Regions from separate parts of the Homo sapiens genome. Here regions 1 and 3 are each linked to region 2. Evidence: promoter capture Hi-C in 16 types of primary human blood cells and fetal thymus (Javierre and others, 2016). All regions are on one chromosome and are shown on one strand. The core of a region is centred on a gene start or on the middle of the fragment in contact, and the rest is flanking DNA. Distances in the headings are between cores, read along the strand shown. Region 1 holds the start of BCLAF1 (BCL2 associated transcription factor 1). Region 2 holds the start of HBS1L (HBS1 like translational GTPase). Region 3 holds the start of MTFR2 (mitochondrial fission regulator 2).

Region 1 (3,356 bases), core at 768-3,267, 1.2 Mb after region 2:
AGACCAATATTGTGAAACTCCGTCTCTACTAAAAATACAAAAATTAGCCCGGTGTGGTGGCGGGCGCCTGTAGTCCCAGCTACTCGGGAGGCTGAGGCAGGAGAATCGCTTGGACCCGGAGACGGAGGCTGCAGTGAGCCGAGACTGGGCCACTGCACTCCTGCCTAGGCGACAGAGCGACATTCCGTCTCAAGAATCAGTCAATCAACCAGACCTGAGCCTACCAGTGAGTAGTACTTTTTACACGTCTGTCTTCAAGTCTTATACTACCACTGTTCCTCAAAGTCAAGAAGGGCTCTGGCTAAACAGCTTCCTTTGCCACCATTTTAATTATCTGAATTAAACAAGATATTTCAGTATTCACCACAATGTACTGGTTGAAACATGAAATCACTAAGAGAAGGTGCTCCAAGGTTGTTTACCATGAGCTACCTTTTTTAAGTGACAAGGTCTCGCTCTGTTGCCCCCGCTGGAGTGCAGTGGGACGAGCACAGCTCACAGCAGCCTCAAACTCCCGCCGAGGGGCCACTTTTTCCCTCCCATCAAATTACCTATCCTGAATTGGTCATGATCAAACAAAAATACAAAAGCCTTGTAGCAGTTTTTCCTACGTAAAGGTTATTTACTGCCTGAACAGTATCCTAACCATTCCAACTAAAGTCGAACTGAAATGAGAATTCACAAGAGGAACAAGAAATTTTGTTTTGCTTTGTAACACCAAAAAATTTAAAAGAGGCTGTTGCAGTGAGGTACAAGTCTGAAGTAGCTCATCTTTTTCGTCAGTGTTAGCCACACTTGCTTTCAACTTCAGTCTTAATTTGTTTCCAGTTCTAAAATGCTTTTTAAAAAAGTCTGAGGTAGCAAAGTAGCTGCTGGTACTTCAGCTTGATTCTGAAGAAATAAATCTTAAAAGCGAATCAAGCCAACTCATGAATTTAAAATGAAGGCAAAGTCCAATTCGCCACTCCCACCCATTTCTCACACCAGCTGTCCACCAATCGTGGCTGCAACATTTCTGACACGACTAAATGGGCTGAATCACTTGAAAAGACTCGGCTTCGCTAGTACTCATGAAGAACCGCACTTTCAGCCGGATGGGGCAGGGCCACGCTCAGAACCACCAGCTAAGACCCAATCCTCTCGCTAGGGAACCGTAACTAGGCAACCAGCACCAGTCAACAGCGCGCGCTCGCTTCAAAACAGCAGGTTGCCGCGGGTACCGAAATTAACTCCAGAGAACCAGGGTCAGCAGCGAGAGGCAGAACAGAGCACTAAAACCTAGTAGCATCACAAAAACGAGGCATTAACTGACGGGTGGTCTGAAGCCGGAGGGCAGTTTTAAAGACCACGCGAAAAGGGGTAGACCTACTCAACGCACTTTGCTGCGGGTCACAGTTATTTTCTCAAAACCCCACAGGCCACGAAGAAAGGTGGCAGTCCCAGCCAATGAGAGGCGGACACAAGTTGCACCTCCAGCGGCCGTCGGCGCCATAGGCGGGGGAGAGAAAAATGAACGAGCGCGCGTGCGCGGAGCGTTCAGTCGGGCGCGCGCAGAGGTACGGGCTGAAGAAATGGGGGAAGGGTGGAAGAGGAAGATATGCGCACGCGCACGGGAGGCCGCGCGGGCTGTGGGTCTCCAGGCAGGTTCGCAAACACGCGCGCGCCCGCCGTTAGCACTGCTCAGCGCCCCCGCCCGGCCTTTTCGGCCCGTAGTGCCTCGAAAACCTGAGAGAAGCTAACGAAAAAACGCATAAATAACGGCGCAACGTCTCCTTGGTTCTCCTTTCGCCGCCAACCCGACACCACCCACAAAAGAGTCAAAAATATGGCCTGTCCTCGGTCTTCACTGCCCCTGGAGTAACTTGAATACATTGCGAGGCCTACCTGACACGCCGAATCGCGGTTCCGGGAATTTATCTCCGTTGCAACCACACAGCGGCCATTTCCCGACTCAAGAACGCGAGGAAAACCATAGAGCTACCTTCGACGCGCTAGCACGTCTCCGTCACTTCCGATCTGGGGCGTGGCCTCGGGTGCCGCTAAATATGCGGGCAAGCCCCGCCCACCCTTCCGCTCCGGTCCGGCTTCCTGGCTGCTATTAAGATGTTGCCTGCGGCCTTCTGGGAAGTCGCGTGGCTGGTCTCGCGGGAAGATGTGACGGCTCCGCCCTCTGGCCCGTAGCGTCAGCCTTGGCCGGAGAGGCGGTAGAGTAGGGTGGGTGTTTTGTCAGGCCTGAGTTAGCTTCGCCATACGGCGCTTTTCGCTGGTGTCTCTGCCTCGTTCTGAGTAGACCCCCTAGACCTCACCGCCGCCCCTGCGTTTTACCTCAGTAAGCTCGTCTGGTCTGTTCTTTCTGTGGGGCCGGCTCAGACCAGGCAAAAAACAAAAAGACAATCCCACACTGAGGAAAAGACCAGGAGGCAAGACGTGGCTGTAATTGCAGACACGCTGCTCCCTCAGCCAGCAAGCGCCACTTTTCCTCTTGGACGCCTAACTGGAGATTAGAAAATGTGGCTTTTGGTTTGCTATTAAATTCGGCAGACGCACTTAGTTGAAAAATGGCCACGATCTAAATCCCTTTCGTGGCGTCTGATCAAATCGGAGCTCAAGCCGCAGCAGCCGGAAACCTCTTAGGCTGCTCGTGCCAAAGAAGGCCGCCCTTCTGGCGGCGTGATGACAGCTTTACCACATCGGCAACGTTGGCATAGGCATGAAAAAATAAAGAGCACGAAGCAGTTGAGCTTTCAGCCTGTGACGATGATTTGTGGCAGCCGAGGAACACAGCCCAACGTAGCTTGGTTGTCCAGAATTATAAGTCAGATTATAAATAGGCAAGCCACATTCGATTTGAATAGAATTTAAATAACAGCCGTAGCACATTTTGCATTAATACTTCTCCGGGCTGCACTTTCTTAGGGCCTAAAACCGCTATTGCTTTGATGTTTAGAGATGTTAACTACCTTGATGGATTTCAGACTTGTAATTAGCAACCAGGGTGTCAGTGAGTGAATCGAAACTAGGATTGGGCCCTGGTTGTGAATTTAACACTGTGCTTAGAGCATTCTTTCTTCACAGTCCAGTTTACCAGCTGAACTAGAAAAACGACAACATTTTCATGGAGTGAATCGTAGGTTTTTTATTGTACAGTCTGTCCCTCACCCCATTACCACCTCAGGATGTGGACACAGAAATCCTTGGCCTTTTTGTTGTGCCCTGATGTCCCAAGCATTCGCAGGTTCTCAGAAATATTTGTTGAGTGAATGAACTATATTTAAAAAAAAAACAACTAAGGGCTCAATACACGTCTGCTATTCTGCATGTATTGGGAGTCGGGGCGCTCCCAATACATGCTGTTA
Region 2 (3,448 bases), core at 850-3,349:
AAAATTATGAAATATTTACCACATGTAAAGAACATTGTGCCAGCTACTTAAAGTATGGATTTTGCCTTCCTGAGACTTTTAAATCAGTGACTGAGGCAGTCATGTAAAGTATTACATAAATTACAGAGAAAAACAAAGTGGGAGTTAAGTAGCGGAACCAGTAGGTTTTAGAACACAAACTCTCTCTAATGAGGTTATATTTCTTAACAGAATTTTTAAATTATTATTCTGAGAATTCAAGAGAAAGCCTAACTGGGAAGAAGAGAAATAAACTGGACCTTAATGAGTACAACTTTTATAAACAAGAAAAGGGGATGAACCTCCTTAATGTTACAGGAACAGCTTGGTTATGATGTCACCAATTGTTTCAAAGAAGCATGACAACATGACAACCTAACCTCAAGAAGCCAAGGTGCTCCCTGAGGCCAACCACCTCTCCTCCATGAAGCATTCCTTAACGTAGAAATCCTGCTTAAATTCCCCCCAATCCATTCTGAATTAAGTGTTCTCATCTGTGTATCCCTCCCATAGCGTTTTCTCAGTACCTTTTGTAGCATTTTTCATACTCTAATAATCTGTAACTCGTATAATCTTCTCCTTTTAGACCACCCTCAAATATCTTACTTTCAGTCCTCAAAGCTTAGAACAGTACTCTAAGCACTAACTTAATGGTGGTTGAGGAAATGATAAACAACTATTAAAGAAATGAATGAATAATAAATAGGCCTATTCATGTACTTTATATTTGCAAAAATCTCTCTCAATCTAAAGTCATTTCTTAGGTGACAATGGTCCACATGCAATACCATCCACTGCAATATTTATTTAAAAGGGCCTCCATTCTAAAGTAACCACCAGAAAATTCACATGTTCTAGACGGACTGAGGTCACAGGTTCCAAATGGAGAACAGGGTGTTAGCTGCCCTCACTCTAGTTAAAGCATACTGATGTTCTATAATAATCTACTGGGGTGCCAATGACAATCACCAACATATTAAGCACTACATGTTCTGCACTTCGTAAAGCATAGTTCTTTATTCTTCTCCTGCATTAGTTCATTTTTGTTTATATTTTTAGTTTATGTGATGCTTGGTGATGCCTATAGTTATCTACTGCATGAAGAGGGATGTGCTCCTCCTAAAAATAATTCTAACTCCTGTTAACTCCTACAGAACATTCATACAGACATTTTTATTTCATTTTTTAATATCAAAAAGTCCTTTCCTATACACTCTTTCCTCTAGTACTGCCGTTTATTTACATTTCAAAATACATTTATATCAAGCATTACCAGCCAAGAACTAAGTATAAACTTCAAGATCCATCTGATCGACTCATTCTTTGGGCCTTTTTAACATGTGTCTTTTCTACCGTCTCCTAAGTTTCCACTTTGAAATTCGTTGAAAAATAAATTAGCGCAAACTGATTCTGCACTAGGTATGTATGGACATACACAAAAGGTTTACCATGTAAATCTAACACAGGTACACGTCCGTTGAATGTATTAAGTCAATCTGTGTTTTACAAATAAGCAACGTTTCATGGACATTTCTCAAAGGGGATCTGGGAGAGAGGAGCTAGAAGCAGGCACGTTAGTGCCCAACATGGGAGGAAACAATGGAAGAGGTGATAATGCTTACGTGCCTAAATATCACCGGATCTCAACCTCACCAATATCCTACCCATATGACGCTATGCAGCACCTCCCCCTCCCCAAATAAAATCAACCCCAGAGGGCAGAAATCATGACTTAAAAACGACGGCATTTGAAAGCACTAGAAGGCCTGTTATATTCCCCAACTGGGGCTCTCCCAATCCCGACAGGGCAACACTGACGAGAAACTCACAGATTGAAGTGGATGCCAACGGGCTAGGATCCCAGCTGTAGCCGGGAAAAGAACGTCCCGGCATGACCCTGCCACCTACCTTCATCGTAGTTATAGCCTCGAACATTCCGATGCCGGGCCATGACGGCGGAGAGGGCGTTTGCCACAGCCCCTTAACTCCTTCCAAAACACTCCGCTTAGATACTGATAAGGCGCCAACTGCAGCCTGGAGAACCCCTATGCGCCATCTTGGCTTCCCGCAGGCCTCTGCGCCGAGCGCCTGCGCAAGCGCGACGTCTTAGCTGTGCACCGCGCGACGGCAATGCCTCAGGGTCACTGTCCGCCTCCCTGAGGGCGCATGCGCACTGCTGTGCATGGCGGGACGAGGGGAGGGAGCGTTTGGGAGTGGCCCCACCCAAAGGTTGGGCGACGGAGGGGGATGGGGAAATCCGCCGCCTAGAATTGACTGGTTTGGACTAAATGTTGCAAGCGGGGAACCTTGAGCTACCTACGCCAGCGTTCTGGATTATTTTCCAAATTTGGTTCCTGATAATCTGAGAAAGCTATGCGCTCAGTAAGAGCAGGGACCTTGTTTTATCAAACTTTGATCTTTCATTAAGCACACAGTGGGCATTCAACAAACTTGTGTAAACTTGGAATCAGATTTAGCCCAGGCCGGTGCGGTGGCTCCTTCCTGTAATCCCAGCACTTTGGGAAGCCTAGGAGGGCGGATCGCTTGAACTCAGGTGTTCGAGACCAGCCTGAGCAACATAGCGAGGCTCCGTCTCTACAAAAAATACAAACACTAGCCGGCCCTGTGGTGCAGACCTGTAGTCCCAGCTACTGAAGAGGCTGAGGTGGGAGGATCCCCTGAGCCCAGGCGGTCGAGGCTGCAGTGAGCTGAGATCGGGCCTCTCCATTCCAGCCCGGGCGACAAAGTGAGTGAGACCTTATCTCAAAAAAAAAAAGAGTCCAAGCTTTAGAGAAGGAAATAAGGCTATTTTTAAACGGGTATATATTATTAAATTGAGACCCTGGCTATATTAGGTCACCCTGCATTCATATAATTTACGACTTCATGTATTCACTCCGTTCGGCATTACTATCCCTAGTAAACAGCGATTTGCCCTTAGCTATGTAAACGATTTTAGCTATATAGACGATATTTATCAGCATCATAAAGAAGGATTCACTGAACATTCATTGAAGACATAATTGTGTGTAACATTGCGAGTATTAAATATAGCTTTTTAGACATAGCACTGGCCTTAGGTGGTAATGCTGAATGTTGTTGATGCATGAATCTATAACCTGCTATTAAATGTCCTCATTTCTCAGAACATAAAGTTAATAATGCTATATAAGAAACCAACCTCATTATACTGAACACCACTTCAGTTTTAGCTTGTGTTTTTGAAATGATGATACTTCACATCAAAGGCAAATGTTGAGTTCTAGAGATAATTAAAAGCTTCCTCAGCTTTTTGCTATGCACAATAGAAAGAAATAAGAGTAATCCAAATTTAGTTTATATTTGTAAGTGGCTTGGAACGTAATTTATTCATGCATTTGAATGTGTTTGACTACAAAAATAGTTGTTTAATGTGGCTCCAAAATAAAAG
Region 3 (3,332 bases), core at 698-3,197, 1.2 Mb after region 2:
AACAAATGTTCAGCTGTTATCTTCAGTCTCTCGATTACTGATATTTAGAATGTTTCAATCACATCTAATGACATTTGCCATTATCGAAGTCCATGGCTTTAAATATCAAAACAAAGCAGATAACTCCCAAAACTGAATCTTTTTCTTTCCTACATACTAAAACCATATATATATCCAATTGTCTGAAGGATATTTCTACTTATATGTTCTAACATCACCTCTGACTCACCTCATCTCCATATTCAAACTAGTTTCTCATACTAAGATGCCCATTTATAATAATGGTACTATGATTCTTCAACTTACTTTTGCTTTAAAAAAATCTTAAATTATCCTTGACTACTTTCTTCTAATTCACCCCACCCGTCTTCCTTACAATCTCATATTACAGTTATCTTTATTGTTTCTTATTCCTCATATTTTAAGCATTATGAATACAACCATGTATTACTCCTCTGTATTACCTGCAGAAACAAGCATATTGTCTTAGATACAGCAGATTTTCAACAAGTAGATAAAATTTGATTTGCTTATGATATGGTTTGGCTGTGTCCCCACCCAAATCTCACCTTGAATTGTAATTATCCTCACGTGTCAAGGGTGGGGCCAGGTGAAGATAACTGAATCATGGGGGCAGCTTCTCCCATACTATGCTCGTGGTAGTGAATAAGTCTCATGAGATGTGATGGTTTTATAAACAGGAGTTCCCCTGCACAAGCTCTCTTGCCTGCCACCATGTAAAATGTGACTTTGCTACTCATTTGCCTTCAGCAATGATTGTGAGGCCTCCCCAGCCATGTGGAACTGTGAGTCAATTAAACCTCTTTCCTTTATAAATTACCCAGTCTCCGGTATGTCTTTATTAGCAGCATGAGAACAGACTAATACAGCTTATAATTCTCAGGCCTAAATCATCCTCTTTCCATTAGATTTATTCTGGATTTATTGAGCTTTAAATATTGAACTTGTTTATAAATTACCTTGAATAGAAGTTTTAATGTATCTGTGCAATAAATGTAATTCTGTGAAGCTCATGTCTATATTTTGCTTCCTTTGTATCTTCTGTTGGCATTTGTCCTATCAGGTAAATATGTTCTCAATAATCTTATCCCTCTTCTAACTCAAATCATCAAAGCTATACTATTACAAACTCACCTTTGTTCCAACTAAAAAGAAGCAACAACTTTGCCTTAAATCAAATGATTACATATAAGTCATTTTCAAAATGAAACCCAAGAACAAATACAACAGATCCATTCCAATCCAAAACGACATTTACCTGTTCTACAGGAACGCCAAAATATTCCAGCATCTCTCTTAAGATATTCAGTATGAGAGACATTGATGAAGCAAATACAGAAGCCAATTCAAAGGAACATTATCAGTTTCTTGGTGCCTTTGGGGAAAATTTTAGAAAATGTTACTCTTGACAAATAAATGCCAAATTGTACTACATAACCTGGAAAAGTCCTCTTGATACACGACACAGTCAACTAATTTCTCCTAGCCAGCATTCTTTTAAGTCAGAGAAAAAGAAAGGAAGGGGAAGTCTGGGGGAAAGAGAGGGTTGTAAAGGAAATTTCAATTAATTGGTTAGATTACATTAAAACCTCGTAGGATGTTTGAGCCTAGTTAATAGAGACCAATCAACAAACTGGACATCTACTTAGTAGGCAAGGCTTCAAGTTACATGCCACAGCGAAGCTCGCTCTTTCCTGAAAGCTTTGGGCTGAGACTCTTAGCAGATGGGTGAGTTTAGCCAACCCTTGAAAGCAGGCAAGGGACGACTCAGTTTTTAAAAAAATAAACAGTAGCTCTTCTCACACACATATCCTCACGTGTCAAGGGTGGGGCCAGGTGAAGATAACTGAATCATGGGGGCAGCTTCCCCCATACTATGCTCGTGGTAGTGAATAAGTCTCATGAGATGTGATGGTTTTATCAACAGGAGTTCCCCTGCACAAGCCCTCTTGCCTGCCACCATGTAAAATGTGACTTTGCTACTCATTTGCCTTCAGCAATGATTGTGAGGCCTCCCCAGCCATGTGGAATGCCCATCCCTCCTCACTCTTTTAAAATGAGAAGCATGAATTCCAGATACGGGACGTGACTTGGTCACCCATCTAGTAACAGGCCGTGACCAGAGCCGGATCGCGTCCCTCGCTTTGGTCACAAGCTTCCTGGTGCTCTCCAAACACAGCGTGGTAGCCTTGCTCACCTTCCTCCGAAGCCGAGCCCCCGGGAATCACCAGAACATCAAGCGGAGGGCGTTAGGAATCCTCAATCAAATTCCAGACTGCGCCACTCCTTGTGCAGATCGCTCAGACGTCTACCCAGACCTCGACCCAGTTTCCACCCGCGCGCCTCGGCTTGCAGCCACAGGCGGTAACGATGCCCTCAGCGAGGAATAAGAGGTCAACCCGGTGCCCAGCCCTGGAGCCTCACGCTCAGCCAGGGTAATGTTATGGGAAGCGCGCCCCCGTCCTCCTGCGCCCAACCAACCCACCTGCTAGTCCCTAGGACCGGACTGCTACTTCCGCATGACAGGACTGCTACTTCCGCATCCCAGGACGAAATCAAACTCCGCGGGCCAGGACCCGTAACCAGCCTCATTGGGCAAAACTGAAGATCGCTGCTTCTGATTGGTCATTGCATGATGTCAGGCAATTCGGGAAGCGACTGCTTTTCCTTCTCAAGAGGCGGGTCTTCCGAGAGTCAGCCAATAGGAGCTGACGGGCAGGGCAGGTCGCGTTAGGACAGCGTCGCTCCCGCAGGGCAAGGTTTTAGGTACAAACTCGTGAGCTGGACTCGCAGTCCGGAGTTCGTACCCCACAGAACTCTTCGCAGGGAGTGTCTTACTCGCTACAGCCGGACCCTAAGCGCATCCGCCTTCCCAAGTTCATCTGACACAAAATCGCGATTTATTTTTTGGTCATTTCATTTGTTCAGCTAATATTAAAATACTTGTGGAACTGGCAGAAGCCAAGCACTACCCCCGAGGGTTTTGCAGCTTTGCAGTGGCTAGGATTCATTCTTTCGTTCACTAAATACACCTACGTATCCAGGCTACCGAATATTGGGCCGGACACTCTCCTGGCTTAGCCGAGGATGGCAAGTGATATGACAGGTGATATCCCAGTTTTCATTTCTGATTTGAGGTTATTGGCTTCATACGAAATAGCTTCCTCTTCTGAATTTCAGCAAGACGTGCACTGGAGTGATATAACAATTTAAGATGTGTGCCTGCTACTGACATAATTTGAAAATCTAAGTTTTGAACTAATTTATCTATGGTCAACATCACTTATTCATTCAACCAATAATAGATATCT

What was found. The method cuts DNA at HindIII sites, captures the fragments that hold promoters and counts their contacts. A CHiCAGO score of 5 or more calls a contact.
Region 1: the fragment with the promoter of BCLAF1 here is called in contact with the fragment with the promoter of HBS1L in region 2 in 2 of 17 cell types (total CD8 T cells and fetal thymus); the score reaches 5.9 in total CD8 T cells.
Region 3: a fragment that was not itself captured here is called in contact with the fragment with the promoter of HBS1L in region 2 in 1 of 17 cell types (fetal thymus); the score reaches 5.0 in fetal thymus.

What each region holds. Positions count from the first base shown.
Region 1 is chr6:136,287,829-136,291,184 of GRCh38, forward strand. It overlaps BCLAF1 (BCL2 associated transcription factor 1), which reads right to left and starts at 2,018. Exons shown (of 13, transcript NM_014739.3): 1 at 1,885-2,018. LOC124901408 (a long non-coding RNA gene) reads left to right here and starts at 2,186. Exons shown (of 4, transcript XR_007059784.1): 1 at 2,186-2,329. RefSeq lists enhancers at 812-1,408, 934-1,053, 1,409-2,005, 1,424-1,543, 1,490-2,689 and 2 more. The HindIII fragment of the contact is 10,003 bases long and covers 1-3,356 here.
Region 2 is chr6:135,052,723-135,056,170 of GRCh38, forward strand. It overlaps HBS1L (HBS1 like translational GTPase), which reads right to left and starts at 2,100. Exons shown (of 18, transcript NM_006620.4): 1 at 1,927-2,100. The coding sequence starts at 1,969. LOC124901405 (a long non-coding RNA gene) reads left to right here and starts at 2,171. Exons shown (of 2, transcript XR_007059775.1): 1 at 2,171-2,764. RefSeq lists an enhancer at 2,259-2,308. The HindIII fragment of the contact is 2,164 bases long and covers 638-2,801 here.
Region 3 is chr6:136,247,758-136,251,089 of GRCh38, forward strand. It overlaps MTFR2 (mitochondrial fission regulator 2), which reads right to left and starts at 2,554. Exons shown (of 8, transcript NM_001099286.3): 1 at 2,219-2,554; 2 at 1,280-1,396. The coding sequence starts at 1,342. RefSeq lists enhancers at 2,004-2,223, 2,874-3,023. The HindIII fragment of the contact is 454 bases long and covers 1,721-2,174 here.